Linked DNA regions of Homo sapiens: region 2 is linked to region 1. Evidence: promoter capture Hi-C in human tissues and cell types (Jung and others, 2019). All regions are on one chromosome and are shown on one strand. The core of a region is centred on a gene start or on the middle of the fragment in contact, and the rest is flanking DNA. Distances in the headings are between cores, read along the strand shown.

Evidence for each region. Contacts are between HindIII fragments. The study calls those that stand out against the background at their distance.
Region 2: a contact is called between a fragment that was not itself captured here and the fragment with the promoter of YTHDF1 in region 1, in 1 of the 25 tissues and cell types used here (dorsolateral prefrontal cortex).

What each region holds. Positions count from the first base shown.
Region 1 is chr20:63,214,100-63,218,017 of GRCh38, forward strand. It overlaps YTHDF1 (YTH N6-methyladenosine RNA binding protein F1), which reads right to left and starts at 2,032. Exons shown (of 5, transcript NM_017798.4): 1 at 1,767-2,032; 2 at 1,478-1,502. The coding sequence starts at 1,793. RefSeq lists silencers at 1,905-1,974, 2,105-2,384. The HindIII fragment of the contact is 8,217 bases long and covers 1-3,918 here.
Region 2 is chr20:63,265,045-63,268,962 of GRCh38, forward strand. No RefSeq gene overlaps it. Among named protein-coding and RNA genes, the nearest start is that of ARFGAP1, 5.8 kb to the right of the region's middle. The HindIII fragment of the contact is 7,334 bases long and covers 1-3,918 here.

The DNA.
Region 1 (3,918 bases), core at 782-3,281:
CAACTAATTAGAAGGGGGACGGGAAACTTTCAATAATTTAGGATAAATTTTAAATAAAGGCTTAATCGTAATTTGGTGAGATTAACCAAATCAAGTGTTAACACATAATGCAAGGAACACATAACCAGGGTGAAAACTGACATGGTCTAAGAAGACTTATGTGTGGCAAAAAGAAGTGGAGCCTCCAAAAGCCCAAATGCAGAATGTATGCCCAAACGTATGGAGAACGGAGGGAAGAAAACTTAGGAGGGAAGGGGCTGCAACTGAAGGACTGTTGGGAGCTATTATCTGACTCTCCACAGTGAACCCCAAATATCTGAGACAGGTCTCAGTTAATTTAGAAAATTTATTTTGCCAAGGTTAAGGACACACCCATGATACAACCTCAGGAGGTCTTGACAACATGTGCCCAAGGTAGTCGGGGGACAGCTTAGTTTTATACATTTTAGGGAGACATGAGAACCATCAATGTAAGATGTACATTGGTTTGGTCCGGAGAGGCGGGACAACTTGAAGCAGGGAGGGGGCTTCCAGGTCATAGGTAGATAAGAGACAAACGGCTGCATTCTTTCGAGTTTCTGATTAGCCTTTCCAAAGGAAGCAATCAGATAAGCATTTATCTCAGTGAGCAGGAATGACTCTGAGTTCTGTCCTTTGTCCACCAGGAATTTCCTTGTGGGCAAACTGTGGGGGAAGTATGTAACTTTTTTTGTCTTAGAAGCTATCTTTTTCAGGAATAGAATGGGAGGCAGGTTTGCCCTCAGCAGTTCTCAGCGTAGCTTTCTCCCTTTGGCTCAGTGATTTGGGTGCCCCAAGACTGGTTTTCCTTTTACACCACTTACCTTCCCACTGTTATTATGCTCAGCCAGAAAAAGCAAGCAAAGGTAAATAAAGTGCTGGGCCTTTTCCAATCTTAAAACACGATGAACCGTATTTGGTTACACCTGAGCTGACACACAAACTGGCTAAAAAAGTGTTCCAAGTAAACGTGAAGTGTCACTTAACAGTTTTCACATGAGTGCGCTCTGAGGGTTTATCCCAAGCCATAATGTCACAGGAGATGCTAACAGACTTGGAAAACGGGCTGCAACTACCGGGGATGTGGAGCTTAGCCTGCAGAACCTTGGACTGCCCCTCTCCTAGAGCAGCCCCTGCTGGGCGGAAAAAGGCAAGTCGCTCAACCCCTGCGGCCATGTCCACCCGGCTCTCCTACCTCCCCTTCCCCAAAGCAAATCCATGATCATGCGGTGGGGAGAGACGGGCCCAAACTACTCTGAGCAATCATTTATTCACTTCTTGAGAAGCCCCTGTCTTCGACCTGTCAAATCTCCCAGAATCGTCGCACAACCTCAAGTTTTATCTCCCTGAAGCTGGCGGAAGAGAGAAAGTTTCCGGTTCCAGACGCAGCTTCCTGGACCGTTCCTTCCCCGTCCTCCTCCACTCCAGCCCGCGCCGGCCGTCCCGGGACTCCGCTCACCTTTATTATCTTGTCCTTTTGTTCTCTGCACCGCCGCAGGCCGGGACGTGGGGTACACACAACCCGGGGGAAGAGGGAAACACAAAGTTATTCACCAGAGAACTGGTCTCCAACGGGCCGCGAGCTCCGCCGGCCCCGACGCGCGGTCACGTGCGACCCCGGCCCCGAGACCCCGGTCCCGCCTGGGCCCGGCCTCCGCGACCCCGGGCTCTGCGTTCCAGCCCCAGGACCTCAACCCAGACCCCGCGCCTCGGCCCCGGCCGCGGCCCCTGTAACCCGGCCCCGCTACCTGGGTGTCCACGCTGGTGGCCGACATGCTTCATGAACAACTAGACGCGGGGCCGGGGCGCCCGCCGGCTCGGGCCTCCCCTAGAGGCCGGGCCTGTCACCCTAGCTCGCGCGGCCCCGGGCCCCGCCGCCAATTCCCCGGGCGCCGGCCGGGCGGCGGCGGCGGCTGCTGGGCGCGCGGGCCCCTGGCGAGGCGGCAGCGGCGGTGAGCCCGGGACGCGGACGCACTGAGGAGGCGTCGACTCCAATGGCGGCGGCGGCGGCGACAGCAGCGGCGACGGCGGCGGCAGGGGACGAGACTGCGCGGCGTCAGCGTGCACGCGGGGCAGGCCGGGAGCGCCGCGCCGGGCCGCCACACTTCGCGCCTGCGCGCTCCCGTCTTACGGGATGGATTTCGCTCTCAGGTCCCAGTCTCGTGCGGCGGGGCGGGGACCGCAGCCGGCTGGGCGGGGAAGCCCTGAGCCGGGGAAGTCACGTGGGGCGTGTCCGGAGGCGCCGCGGGGCCTGGCGGGAAGGGGCTGGCGGGCTGCTGCCAGGTGTACAGCCGCCCACACACACCCCGGCCACAGCCGCACCCCCGACGCGCTACCGGCACTGAGGCCTCTGTAGTTTTCCCCAAGGTCCGAAGACTAAACGCTGTTCTGGTCCGACAGCTGGGCTACGGGTCTGTCCGGGGTCGGTCTGCCCTTCCCCCGCGCGCAAACACCTGCCCGCCCAGAGCTCCGAGCCCCCGCGTGTTCCAGGTCGCGCGCCTCGGCCCTTGCCGCGGGACCTGCGGGCTTTGTTCGCTTTGCGGCCCTGGCCTTCAGCCGCAGCGGAGCCCTGGGCCCGGTCCCGGAGGTCAGCTGTTGTGTGGATGCACCCCTGGACCTGCGAGAGGCTCGCCGGCTTATAACCAAGTTCTCATGTTAGATTCTTGACCCCGATTTCATCACCAGGAGGAAAAGCAGTGCTCTGTGCCCCAGCCTAGGCCGGGCCAGGGGACTTGTCATCTTTGTTCGAGGATGGACAGCCCCTTCTTAGCAGCAACTGTGCAAAGAGAGCCCAGTTCTCAGTTCCTAACCCCTCAGCATCCCCAACCTGGACGCCCTTCTGGTCAAGGTGTTGAATTTCGCTCCCTGCAGCCAGTATCCAATCCTGCCACCCTTGTGGCTAACTCCCTACAGAGGCTTCCAGGTTGATATTTTTCTTTCCAGCTCTGGCAGCTGTAACATCTTCACGTGGCCTGGATCTGGGTCCTGCTAAAGGAGAAAGACCTGGAATGGGGTGTCAGGCAGGTTGACGTCAAATGAGTGTTTTCCACAAAGTGGGCCCGGGCAGATGCGCTAAGCAGGGTGAACAGTGACAGCAGGGACGGCAATGGAGTCCCAAGACGGCTCCAAGCCTGGACATCCGCATCAGTGGGGTAGCAGACAGCCTCTCACACTGCTGCAGGAGGAGGTGGAAACTGCCCCCAGCAGGCCGGTCAGCCACAGAGAGGACTGCTGCTCCAAGTTGCTCCAGGTCTCCCTGGAGCCCTGCCTCGCCTAAAGCTGGGGAAAGCGGGCTGGGCTTGTTTCCCTGGAACAGAGCTGGGGGATGTCTGGTGCCCTGAGGATGAATCTGGATCCCCTGGGACTTTGATGTGTTTGGGCCATGGGCAGACATCTCAGGCCAGGATGAAATCTGTGCATTTGGGGTACATCCGAAAATGAACAGCACGTTTCCAGGATGGTGGCCCACATGGAGAAGATGTGTGGGGATTGTAGGGACAGTGGGGTCCCTGGGGGCACCCTGCCACCTGCTTCTGTGTGATAAGGCCTGCGCATCCTGGGCAGGCCCTGAGTGCCTGCTTCCCAGGACACTGAACTGTTTGGCGGCCAAGACTGCAGCAAGGGGGTGTCTGGGTGGTCAGAGTAGACACTCGGACTCTTGGAGCCCCTGTCTGTCTTCTCACCCAGCTCCCATCCCTGGGCCAGGACGGTGCAGTGGTCACCACTGGAGTTCAGAGCCTCACAGCCAGTTACAGGGCCTTCAGCCTCAGGCCTACTTTCCTCCTCCGTGGTGGGTTAATTACTCCCCTTTCACAGGATGAGTGTGTGGAAGAAACTGGGTATGCAGCCCTTGGCGTCAGGCCAGGGCTCTGTCAACACTGGCTGTTACCTGCTGCCTTC
Region 2 (3,918 bases), core at 679-3,178, 51 kb after region 1:
TTATTTTTAGTTTATTTTTCTAGATGAAGTCTCACTCTGTCGCCCAGGCTGGAGTACATTGGTGCGATCTCGATCTTGGCTCACTGCAACCTCCACCTCCCCGGTTCAAGCAACTCTCCTGCCTCAGCCTCCTGAGTACCTGGGATTATGGGTACCCACCACCATGCCTAGCTAATTTTTGTTTTTTTGGTAGAGACAGTGTCTTATCATGTTGGCCAAGCTGGTCTCGAACTCCTGACCTCAGGTGATCTCCCTGCCTCGGCCTCCCAAAGTGCTGGGATTGCAGGTGTGAGCCACGGCACCCAGCCTGAAACAACATTTTAAACTGCTAATCAGGCCTACAGTTTATATGCCTCTGCACAAGCCCTGCCCCCCTTTCCTGGGCAGGGGTGGGGTGGGGAGATGTCTCAGTGCCCCCATAGCCCAGTCCTTTCTCTCCCCCCACCCTCCCTGCCCCGACCCTCACACTGCCCCGTCCTGCAGGAGAGAGGCATCCCAGTTTGGGAAGCTGGTAATGCCCACCACTCGGTCACCAGTGTTGGTACCGCTCTGGCTGTCGGCAACTGGCTGGGCCTGGGGACACATGGGAACAACTCCGATCACACAGGAAGAGTTTCCCGGTCCCTCGGGACCATGGAAGCCCAGCCACACAGCACCGGTTTGAGGCAAGGCTCTCAATACCTCGCCCTCCGTGCCCAACACCTTGGTCTTCTGCTAGGGGTCCTCACAGTCTGGGGAAACTGAGTCCACATGGGCCTCAGGGCTGGAGCTTGGAGCCCAGGGCACCCAGTCAGCACATTCTATCCTCCTGGCCGGTGATTGTTTGGAAGTGGACACATGACCCCAGCTAGGCCCATCAGGGTGGAGCGTGAGCTTTCAGCTGGGATGCCGGTGCAAGGCTACTTTCTCTTGCTGGAGGCGAATCATGAAGCTTGCAGCCTTAGAAGCTGCCAGAAGCATCCTGGGGTCTCAGGATGAAGACGGAACTGCAAACATACACAGAGAATCCTGGTTCTCAGCAATAGTGCTGAGCTGCTGGATCAAGCCACACCTGAAATTGAACTTTGTTCTAGAATTTTCATCACACAAATCAATACATTCCCTTTGCTAAGCCATTTGGGGTTGAGATTTTTGCCTCTAGCAACTAGAATCTGGAAAGATTCCTGGCTAAGATACGCATGGGAGGGTCCAAAGCAGGAGGACCCTGCGGGTCCAGCTGTCACAGCCCCAGGATCTGAGCTACCAGTTCTGCAATCTGAGAAGCTGGCCTGGTCTCAGCACATTCTTAGCTGTGACTCCTTAGCCGCTGTGGCCACACGTAATTCAGCACAGCTGCAAGTTTCTTGGAGCTCAGGACAGAGCGGCTCAGCATTTTCGAGGAACATTTGTACTTCTGGGTGACTTACACACCCTGACATTCTTCCCATTTCCTTCTGTCCTGGGCCCCAGTTCTTCTGGACGCCACGCACAGGCAGCAGAAGTGGGGGCAGACGGGGCTGGAACCAGCCAGGTGGAGTCCCACCATGCAGCAGGCCAGAAGCCAGGACCAAGGCAGCACCGTCGTGGGCAGCCCCGGGCCAACCCCACGCGCTTCTCTCCAGGACCCAGGCGGCACCGTCGTGGGCAGCCCCGCACTAACCCCACGCGCTTCTCTCCAGGACCCAGGCGGCACCGTCGTGGGCAGCCCCGGGCCAACCCCACGCGCTTCTCTCCAGGACCCAGGCGGCACCGTCGTGGGCAGCCCCGGGCCAACCCCACGCGCTTCTCTCCAGGACCCAGGCGGCACCGTCGTGGGCAGCCCCGGGCCAACCCCACGCGCTTCTCTCCAGGACCCAGGCGGCACCGTCGTGGGCAGCCCCGGGCCAACCCCACGCGCTTCTCTCCAGGACCCAGGCGGCACCGTCGTGGGCAGCCCCGGGCCAACCTCACGTGCTTCTCTCCAGATACAGGACAAAGCTGTTTCAGAAGGACCTGGTGGTGGAAGATGATCAACAGGAGACAAAAATGGGCAGAGAAAAACACAGGCATCCACAGGACACACCATGGCCAGGCCGTGTTTGCTTGGCCTCACCACCATTAAGATGAGAAAATTAAACAGCGATGGCGACGCGTGTGCTTAGAGCCCGGCGGAGACAGCCCCCTTGGTAATGGCAGCCAGGGAGGGGACGCAAGGAACAGGCACACTCCCATCAGCGCATCTGGCACAGGGGTTTGGAGGACAATTTGGTGGAATCTCCCAGAACTTACCTGGCACTTCCACCTCTAGAGGTCTATGTTGTGGAAATACTCGCACAAACAGAGAGAGGTCACCGCACAAAGATGTCCAGTGCAACATCGAAGGTAAAACAAAGTAATGATGATTGTGACAGGAGAGTCCTGTCTTCCAATCAGAGGCCAGTTAGAGAACGTAAGAGACCTCAGTGGTTAAGATGAACAAGCCTCTGCTATAGAGGGGACGCAAGAAAGCCACCAATCAAGGTGTGAGTAGCAGGGAAGCCCAGGCCGTGTGCCTGTTTATGCAGAAGACAAGATCTGGGCAGGTCCACCCCAAACTGCTGGCCGTGCTCCCTCTGGAGGTCCTGCCCAGGACCAAAGGGGCTTTCAAGCCTCCAAGGGGCACCCCCATGGTGCCCTGGGGTTGTAGAATGCCTCCTTCCTGAAAGCCCCACCTGCGAGTCAGCTCCCCTGCCTCACTTCTTCCCCCCGTCACCGCTCAAGCTGGCTGTGACTGTGGTGGCAATGCAGGACCCAGCAGTTGAGCTACAGGAATTTCCCTGGAGCTGCCTCTGTGTGAGCCCTGGCCGGACACACCAAGAGACAGGGAGAGGGCGAGGGGATGAGCCAACCCTCCAGCAACTCCCAGACAACGGGGCAGGGCAGGGCCAGGGGAATGACCAGAATTCTCTCAAGTGGAGGGTGCAGAGGGCGTGGGTGAGTGAGCAGGGGCTGGAGGCCCCCAGCAGCTGCACGAGAGGGCGGGGCAGAGACAAGACCAGAACCCAAGTTCCTAGGAGGCCTGGAATGATGAGTTTATTCCTGGGATTTTATTCCTAGGATGATGGTGCTGAGCGAGGTCTGGGCAGAAAGAAGGAACTTCTGGGCAGGAGAACTTCAGGGGACTCTACCATGAAGTGTGGAGCGCTGAGCAGGGAACAGCCTGAGCATGGAGCAGCCCAGCGAGTGTGGGGCTTTCTGGCTTTGGCTCAAGGTGACCTGACTTGCAGGTTGATGCTGGTGATGGAGAGGGTTGGAGAGAGAGAGGCGACGATCCAGAAGGATTTCCCCTTTGCTATGCTGCTGGCCTCTCCCCTTCACCCAAACTAAGAGGTGCTGGCACCCATCACAGCACATGGCAGCCGGAATGCCAGCTGGGAGGGCTGCTGTCGTAGGTCAGGTTCCCTGGAGGCTGAAGACAGGGATTGCTGTGCCAGTGATTCTTTGGGAGGTGCTTGTCTTAATCTGCTCAGGCTGCTGTAAGAAAATCCACCAGACTGTGTGGCTTGTGAGCAACAGAAATTCATTTCTCACAGTTCTGGAGGCCGGAAGTCCAAGATCAAGGCATGGGGATATTCTGGGCTGGGCGAGGGTCTGTGCCCAAGAGCCGGCACCTCCTCTCTGTGTCCTCACATGGGAAAGGCGTCGGGTCTCTCTGGGGCCCCTTTTATGAGGGCACTCATCCCATTCATGAGGGCTCTGCCTTTGACCCCTCATCACCTCCCAAAGGCCTCACCTCCTGAAACCAGCACACTGGCGGTTAGGATTTCAACGTGGGAATTTACAGGAACGCCGACATTCAGGCGTGCTCCCTGGAGAAAGGTGGGTGGAATGCAGGATGGGAGGAGCTGAGCTGGGAGGGGCTCTCAGCCACATGCATGGCCATGTGTGCTGGGCTGAGCCACAGGAATGAACGGGCTAAGC